3 separate regions of the Homo sapiens genome follow, and all the other regions are linked to region 2. The links are contacts of gene promoters, found by promoter capture Hi-C in human tissues and cell types (Jung and others, 2019). All regions are on one chromosome and are shown on one strand. Each heading gives the region's core, a stretch centred on a gene start or on the middle of the fragment in contact. The rest is flanking DNA. Distances are from core to core; before and after follow the strand shown.

Region 1 (2,745 bases), core at 246-2,745, 170 kb before region 2:
GTGTAGAAAAATTCCATTTACTTTATATCCTCTCCAACACTTCTTATCTTTCATTTCTTTGAAAATAACCATTCAAACAGCTAGAAAGTGATATCTCATTGTTGTCTTAATTTGCATTTATTTGATGATTAACGAGGATTAGCATTTTTTCATGTACTTGGCCATTTGTATGTCTTCTTTTGAGAAACATTTATTCAAGTCCTTTCCCCACTTTTAAATTGGGTTATCCTATGCTTTTGAGGTCATACCCAAAGTATCATTTCCCAGACCAATGTTGTGGAGTTTTCCTCTATGTTTTCTTCTAGTAGTTTTATAGTTTCAGATCTTATAATTAAACTTTAACCCATTTGGAGTTAATTTTGATATATGATGTGAGACAGGGGTCTAATTATTATTATTATTATTATTTTGCATGTGGGTATTCAGATTTCCTAATAGCCTTTATTAAAGGGACTGGTTGTTTTTTTGATATGTGTTCTTGGCACCTTTGTCCAAAATAAATTGACCATAACATCATGGGTTTGTTTCTGGGCTCTCTATTCTGTTCCATTGGTCTACATGTCTATTTTTATGCCAGGACCATGATGAATTACCATCATTTTGTAATACAGTTTGAAATCAATTATTGGGATGCCTTCACCTTGGTTCTATTTGCTCAAGATTGCCTTGGGTTTTGTCTTTTGTGGTTCCATATACATTTTAGGATATTTTTTCTATTTCTGTGAAAAAAAGACATTTCACCCATGAAACCATTAGTCTTGGGCTTTTTTGTTTGTTTGTTTTTGGATGCAAGATTTTTTTTTATTACTGATTCAATTTCCTCACTCATTATTGGTCTACTCAGATTTTCTATTTTTTCATTATTCTGTCTTGGTTGTGTGTTCAGGAATTTATCCATTTCTTCTAGGTTATTCAATTTTTAGCATACAATTTTTTATAACACTCTGTCATGATTCTTTGTATTTCTGTGGTATCAATTGTAATGTCTCCCTTTTCATCCCTGATTTTATTTATTTTAGTCTTCTCTCTTTTTTTTGTATTTGTCTTGCCAAAGGTATGTTGATTTTGTTTATGTTTTCAAAAAACTAAGCCTTTGTTTCATTGACCTTTTGTATTTTTGGTCTCTATTTCACTTATTTCTGCTCTAATAGCAATTATTTCTTTTCTGCTGCTAATTTGGGATTTAGTTTGTTTTTATTTTTCTAGTTCCTTGTGGTGCATATTAGGTTGTTTATTTGTGGTCTTTCTTCTTTTTTTAATGTGGGTTTTTTGTTTGTTTGTTTGTTTGTTTGAGTCAGAGTCTCACTCTGTTGCCCAGGCCGGAGTGCAGTGGGGGGATCTTGGCTCACTGCAAGCTCCGCCTCCCAGGTTCAAGGGATTCTTGTGCCTCAGCCTCCCAAGTAGCTGGGATTACAGGCATGTGCCACCATGCCCAGCTAATTTTTGTATTTTTAGTAGAGATAGGGTTTTGCCGTGTTGGCTGGGCTGGTCTCAGACACCTGGCCCCAAGTGATCCATCTGCCTCTCTCTCCCAAACTGCTACAATTATAGGCGTGAGCCACCACACATGGCTAATATACGTGTTTGTTGCTATAAACTTCCCTCTTAGAACTGCTTAGAACTGCATCTCAAAGGTTTTCGTATGTTGTGTTTTCAATTTTACCTGTTTAAATTTTTTTTTAATTTTTTAATTGATCCATTGGTTGTTGAGGAGCATGCTATTTAATTTCTATGTATTTACAAAGTTTACAAATTTCCTCCTGATGTTGACTTCTAGTTTTATACCATTGTGGTTAGAAAATATACTTGAAATGATTTAGATCTTAAATTTGTTAAAGCTTTGTTTTGTGGCCTAACATATGATCTGTTCAGGAGAATGTTCCATGTGCTATTGAGACAGATGTGTATTCTGCAGCTTTTGAGTGTCATTTTTTTGTCTGTTTGTTTGAGACAGAATCTTGCTTTGTCGTCCATGGTGGAGTGCAGTGGTGCGATCTTGGCTCGCTGCAACCTCCATCTTTCAAGTTCAGGCGATTCTCGTGCCTCAGCCACTCAAGTAACTGGGATGACAGCAGTGCGCCACCATGCCCAACTGATTTTTGTATTTTTAGTAGAGACGGGGTTTCGCCATGTTGGCCAGGTTTGTCTCTAACTCCTGGGCTCTAATGATCCGCCTGCCTCAGCCTCCCAAAGTGCTGGGATTATAGGCATGCACCACCGCGCCCGGCCTTGAGCGGCACGTTCTGTAAATGTCTGATAGGTTCATTTAGTCTAGTGTGTGGTTTAAATCTGATGTTTCTTTGTTTGTATCCTGTCTGATGATCTGGCCATTGCTAAGAGCGTGATGCTGAAGTCTCCCGCTATTGAGACTGAAGGGAAGTGCTGGGAAGGGAAGAGCATGGTCCCTTTAAATGATACGGAAGGGGGAAGGGAAGCGCTGGGTAGAGGAGGGCGTGACTAGGGCTCCACCCCTAAGGATCTAGGTGTGGACAGGCGTTTCCTGCCCACATGTTGCGTTTCCCAAGACCACCCTGGCCTGCCACGCCCCCAACCTGTGCCTATAAACCTCCCAGACCCCAGCAGGCAGACACACAGGTGGGGTGGACGTCTGGAGAAACTGGCGCGGAAGGCCAGTGACCAGCAGAAGCACAGTGATGCAGAGTTTTGCTGGGGCAGTTGGAAATGAGCCCAGGACGCTGAGTGGCCTGACTCCAGGGGAAAACCTTCCCACTCCAAGTTGAGCTG
Region 2 (2,700 bases), core at 181-2,680:
CACATGTATAAAAATGAAAAATAGGCGTCGAGCTGATGCCAAACACCGGCTCACCCCAGCAATATGTAAAATTCATTCAAATAATATAAATAATTTGAGCTGTAAAACAAAATCCATCTCATTACAAGTTGTGCTTCCAAAGCACTTCACTTTTTGTCTAAGAATTAACAGTAAACATTTTGAAATATTTATATAATTTTGCTAATAATCCAGAAAATAACACTAAGAAAAAATGTAATCTACTTTCGTTACGGACATATATGCTAGGATAAACAATAAACAATAAAACAATGCATAGAACTATTTTACACTAGGATAAAATTCAATGAGGCACATAGAATGAAAATATTTTTACAGTAGAATAAAAAGCCGGTGAGGGACATAAAAGTTCAAGGAAAAAAACCCTAAAAGATGTAAAACTTATGACTGTTAAAAGTGGATAATACCAAATCTTCAGGGATTTAGATTCCATTGGATACACTTGAAAGCAATTTTGTTCTTAATATTAACAGCATGCCAAAAATATACCCTTTGCAATTATTTAAACTTAATATGAAAAATATTTAGATGTTGCTGTTTTTAAAAAAGGCTGACTATAGCCAATAACTTAGTTGTATATTTAAAAATAAGAATATAATTTGATTGCTTGTAACACAAAGGATAAATGCTTGAAGTGATGGACACGCCATTAACCCTGATATGATTATTACGCATTGCATTCCTGTCTGTATCAAGATATCTCACGTACTCGACAAATAGGGACACCTACTATGTACCCACAAACATTAATTTAAAAAAAAAAAAAAGGTCTTCAAAGTCATTTTAGGCCCTGGGTTTGGAAGCCGACACCGGCGGTGGGGTGGGCAGGGGGCGAGGTCGCTGCCAAGCTGGCGCCCCGGGTGGGAGCGTGGCCCGGTCCCAGGGACGGCTCCAGGGGCGCGCTCCCACTCCGCATCCCCAGTGCCTAACCGGGGGCGCTTCTGGTGCTGACGACCAGGAAGGGCTGGTGCTCTCGGGCCAGCCCCCAACCAGCTGAGAAGGCAATGGGTCCCCAGCCCAGCGCTGTCCTGCGCCCCTCCCGGATTCCCCCATTTCCCGCCAGGCCCCCACTTCCGGGAACGTCCCCGCACCCACACCTGGCAATGAATCACGTGTTCAGGAACCAGGTAGGCAGGTATTTACTTTATTACCTGTGCCCCTCCCCCAGCCTACCCCAGAAGCTAATGGGCACGGAAACAGAAAGCCCCGCCCACGGCCTCCTGGCCGCGCCTGGAGCGCGCGCCCTGCAGCTGGTCCTCAATAAATAGCCGAGGAGGCGCTCCCCTCCCTCCCTCCCGCCGGCGCCGTCGGCCCGGACCATCGAGTCAGTCCTCCAGCGTCCCAGAGAGGGCGCGGAAGTGCCCCAGGGCCGGCGCGGGTTCTTCCGGCCGTGCGGTCCGCGCTTTTGTCCCGCTGGCGGCCGGGTTCCCGCGGCGCCGCCACAGCCAGTACGTGAGTCCGCGGCCGCCCGCGCTCCCGCCCCCGGCCCTTGCCTGCCACGCCCTCCCCTTTTTGGCCGGGTCTTGGCTGCTCCGCGGGTCTCGGGCGGGATGTGGGAGTAAGCGTGCCCCCTCCCCGCACATGTCTCAGTGGGTGCGTTTCTGGGGAGCGGAGGGGAGGGAAGACCTCGGGCAGGCAGAGGGGTGCAGGGCGCGCCCCTGGAACAGACTGGGCTCTGTGTGGGCCACAACTGCGACGTTTGAACGGACCAGCGTCATGTTAGGTCTGCTCAACGTTCCGAGAAGGGCCAGGGCCCCGCTCCGGTGTTCCTCAACTATTCATCCCTGTTTTGGATGGGAGGGGATCCCTAAAAATTAGCGCTTCAAAATACCCACCATTTCGTGCTCCCTCTGCAGTTAAGTTTGGTACTCTAGGACTTGAGAGTGATTGCGAGGGCAGAGAGACCTCTAGGGGTGATCTGATTCGACCTTCTTCCCCTCCGCTCCACCCCACCACCTTTTTTTCTTTTTTTTTTTTGGTCGGTGAGTGATGATGATAAGCTCCCGCTGCAGGTGTGAATAGAGACCCCGGAGGTGCGTCCTAGCCCTCATCTGGGGAAGCGCACCTGCATACAGACGGGTGCACCGGGGAGGAGGCGACCTGCCGCGTGTTCCTGCAAGCAGAAAAGGAGTTAACTAGGTAGGGAGAGGAAGGTCGAAGAGTTTCTTAGACCCAGGGGACAGCCTGCGGGAACCCAGGGGTGGGACGGAAAAGATCACTGGGGAATGCCAGGGCTGGGTGTGCTGCTCTAAGACATTTAAAGTAGTTGGCCAGCAGGAGCATTTCTTTGTGAAAGCTCAAGGCTTAAAAAAAATAATAATATGAAATATGTAATATATTCATATGGCTGGGATATTAAAAATATAAAAAGTTACCAGTGAAAGATTTCTTCCCATCCCGCTTAGGTATCTTCCTAGGCCCTACCCTCTTAGGTAACCACTTTTGTTCCTTTGTATCTTTTCCGAATTTCTGCAAATACTGGCAAATATAACTAGTTAGTTCCCCCTTTTTTCACACAGGTGATAGAAATCCTTCTAACTCCTTGATTCTTTCACTTTATCTTACTGGTCTCTACATGTCAGAACACAGAAGTTGTGTTTTGTTTCGTTTTGTTTTACAGAGCTGTGGTAAGTATTGGATGGGCCATTGTTTGGATGTTTT
Region 3 (2,700 bases), core at 136-2,635, 150 kb before region 2:
GGTCATCATGACGCTTGCTGGTTATTTTGCACATTCCTTTATGCAGTTTTTTCATAGTGTCATTGGTCTTTATATTCTGGTGTGTTTTTGTGGTGGCTGGTACCAGTTGTTCCTTTCCATATTTAGTGCTTCCTTCAGGAGCTCTTGTAGGGCAGGATTGGTGGTGACAAAATCCCTCAGCATTTGCTTGTCTGTAAAGGACTATATTTCTCCCTCATTTATGAAGCTTAGTTTGGCTGGATATGGAATTCTGGGTTGAAAATTTTTTTAAGAATGTTGAATATTGGCCCTCACTCTCTTCTGGCTTCTAGGGTTTCTGCAGAGAGATCCACTGTTCATCTGATGGGCTTCCCTTTGTAGGTAACCTGACCCTTCTCTCTGGCTGACCTTAACATTTTTTCCTTCATTTCAACCTTGGTGAATCTGACGATTATGTGTCTTGGGGTTGCTCTTCTCGAGGAGTATCTTTGTGGCATTCTCTGTATTTCCTGAATTTGAATGTTGGCCTGTCTTGCTAGGTTGGGGAAGTTCTCCTGGGTAATATTCTGAAGTGTGTTTTCCAACTTGGTTCCATTCTCCCCATCACTTTCAGGGACCCTGATCAATCATAGGTTTGGTCTTTTCACATACTCCCATATTTCTTGGAGGCTTTGTTTGTTCCTTTTCATTCTTTTTCTCTAATCTTGTCTTCATGCCCTATTTCAGTAAGTTGTTCTTCAGTCTCTCACATCCTTTCTTCCTCTTGATCGATTCGGCTATTGATACTTGTGTATGCTTCACGAAGTTCTCGTGCTGTCTTTTTCAGCTCCATGAGGTCATTTATGTTCTCCTCTAAACTGGTTATCCTAGTTAGCCATTCCTATAACCTTGTCAACGTTCTTAGCTTCCTTGCATTTGGCTAGAACATGCTCCCTTACCTCAGAGGAGTTTGTTATTACCCATATGCTGAAGCCTACTTCTGTCAATTTGGCAATTCTTTCAAACTCATTTTCTGTCCAGTTTTGTGCCCTTACTAGACAGGAGTTATGATCATTTGGGGAAGAGGCATTCTGATTTTTGAAATTTCCAGCATTTTTAAGCTGGTTTTTCCTCATCTTTGTGGATTTATCTACCTTTGATCTTTGAGGCTGATGACCTGTGGTTGGGGTTTTTGTGTGGGGATCCTTTTGTTGATGTTGATGTTACTGCTTTCTGTTTGTTAGTTTTTCTTCTAACAGTCAGACCCCTTTTCTGCAGGTCTGCTGCAGTTTGCTGGAGGTCCACTCCAGACCCTATTTGCCTGGGTATAACCAGTGGAGGCTGCAGAACAGCAAAGATTGCTGCCTGCTCCTTCCTCTGGAAGCTTCATCTTAGAGGGGCACCAGCCTGATGCCAACCAGAGCTCTCCTGTATGAGGTGTCTGTCAACCCCTGTTGGGAGGTCTCTCCCCGTCAGGTGACACAGGGGTCAGGGACCCACTTGAGGAGGCAGTCTGTCCCTTAGCAGAGCTCGAGTGCTGTGCTGGGAGAGCCCTCCTTGTCAGCATCTGCTGCTCTCTGCAGAGCCAGCAGGCAGGAACGTTTAAGTCCACTGAAGCTGCACCCACAGCCGCCCCTTCCCCCAGGTGCTCTGTCCAAGGGAGTTGGGACTTTTATCTATAAGCCCCTGACTGGGACTGCTGCCTTTCTTTCAGAGATGCCCTGCCCAGTGAGGAGGAATCTAGAGAGGCAGTCTGGCCACAGCCTCTTTGCCGTGCTGTGTTGAGTTCCGCCCAGTCCGAACTTCCAGGCCTCCTTAGCACTGTCAGGGGAAAACCACCTATTCAAGCCCCAGTAATGACAGATGCCCCTCCCCCAACCAAGCTCCAGGTCAGCTCCAGACTACTGTGCTGGCAGCAGGAATTTCAAGCCAGTGGCTCTTAGCTTGCTGGGCTCCGTGGGAGTGGGACCCGCTGAGTGAGCCCACTTGGCTCCCTAGCTTCAGCCCCCTTTCCAGGGGGTGAACAGTTCTGTCTTGCTGTGGTTCCAGGCGCCACTAGGGTATAAAAAAACACTCCTGCAGCTGGCTCAGTGTCTGCCCAAACAGCCACCCAGTTTTGTGCTTGAAACCCAGGGCCCTGGTGGTGTAGTCACATGAGGGACTCTCCTGTTCTGTGGATTGCAAAAACCGTGGGAAACGCGTAGTGTCTGGGCCAGATAGCACAGTCCCTCACAGCTTCCCTTGGCTGGTGGAGGGAGGCCCCCCACTCCTTGCACTTCCTGGGTTGAGGCAACACCCCGCCCTGCTTCTGCCTGCCTTCCATGGGCTGCACCCACTGCCTAACCAGTCCCAATGAGATGAACAGGGTACCTCAGTTGGAAATGCAGAAATCCCCTGCCTTCTGCATTGGTCTCGCTGGCAGGCCAGAGCGTTCCTATTCAGACATCTTGCCAGATCCTTCCCATGTTTTTCTTTTCTTTTCTTTTCTTTTTTTTTTTTTTTTGAGACGGAGTCTCGCTCTGTTGCCCAGGTTGGAGTGCAGTGGCGCCATCTCGGCTCACTGCAAGCTCCGCCCCCTGGGTTCACGCCATTCTCCTGCCTCAGCCTCCCGAGTAGCTGGGACTACAGGTGTCCACCACCATGCCCAGCTAATTTTTTGTATTTTTAGTAGAGACGGGGTTTCATCATGTTAGCCAGGATGGTCTCAGTCTCCTGACCTTGTGATCCACCCACCTCGGCCTC

The links. The method cuts DNA at HindIII sites, captures the fragments that hold promoters and counts their contacts. A contact is called where the count stands out against the background at its distance.
Region 1: a fragment that was not itself captured here is called in contact with the fragment with the promoter of ZFP62 in region 2 in 1 of the 25 tissues and cell types used here (pancreas).
Region 3: a fragment that was not itself captured here is called in contact with the fragment with the promoter of ZFP62 in region 2 in 2 of the 25 tissues and cell types used here (heart left ventricle and small bowel).

The regions. Positions count from the first base shown.
Region 1 is chr5:181,027,999-181,030,743 of GRCh38, reverse strand. No RefSeq gene overlaps it. Among named protein-coding and RNA genes, the nearest start is that of BTNL9, 11 kb to the left of the region's middle. The HindIII fragment of the contact is 8,395 bases long and covers 1-2,745 here.
Region 2 is chr5:180,860,006-180,862,705 of GRCh38, reverse strand. ZFP62 (ZFP62 zinc finger protein) reads left to right here and starts at 1,430. Exons shown (of 2, transcript NM_001172638.2): 1 at 1,430-1,487. The coding sequence starts at 1,487. RefSeq lists enhancers at 387-1,293, 1,771-1,850 and a silencer at 1,221-1,670. The HindIII fragment of the contact is 15,115 bases long and covers 1-2,700 here.
Region 3 is chr5:181,007,460-181,010,159 of GRCh38, reverse strand. No RefSeq gene overlaps it. Among named protein-coding and RNA genes, the nearest start is that of BTNL3, 20 kb to the right of the region's middle. The HindIII fragment of the contact is 4,188 bases long and covers 1-2,700 here.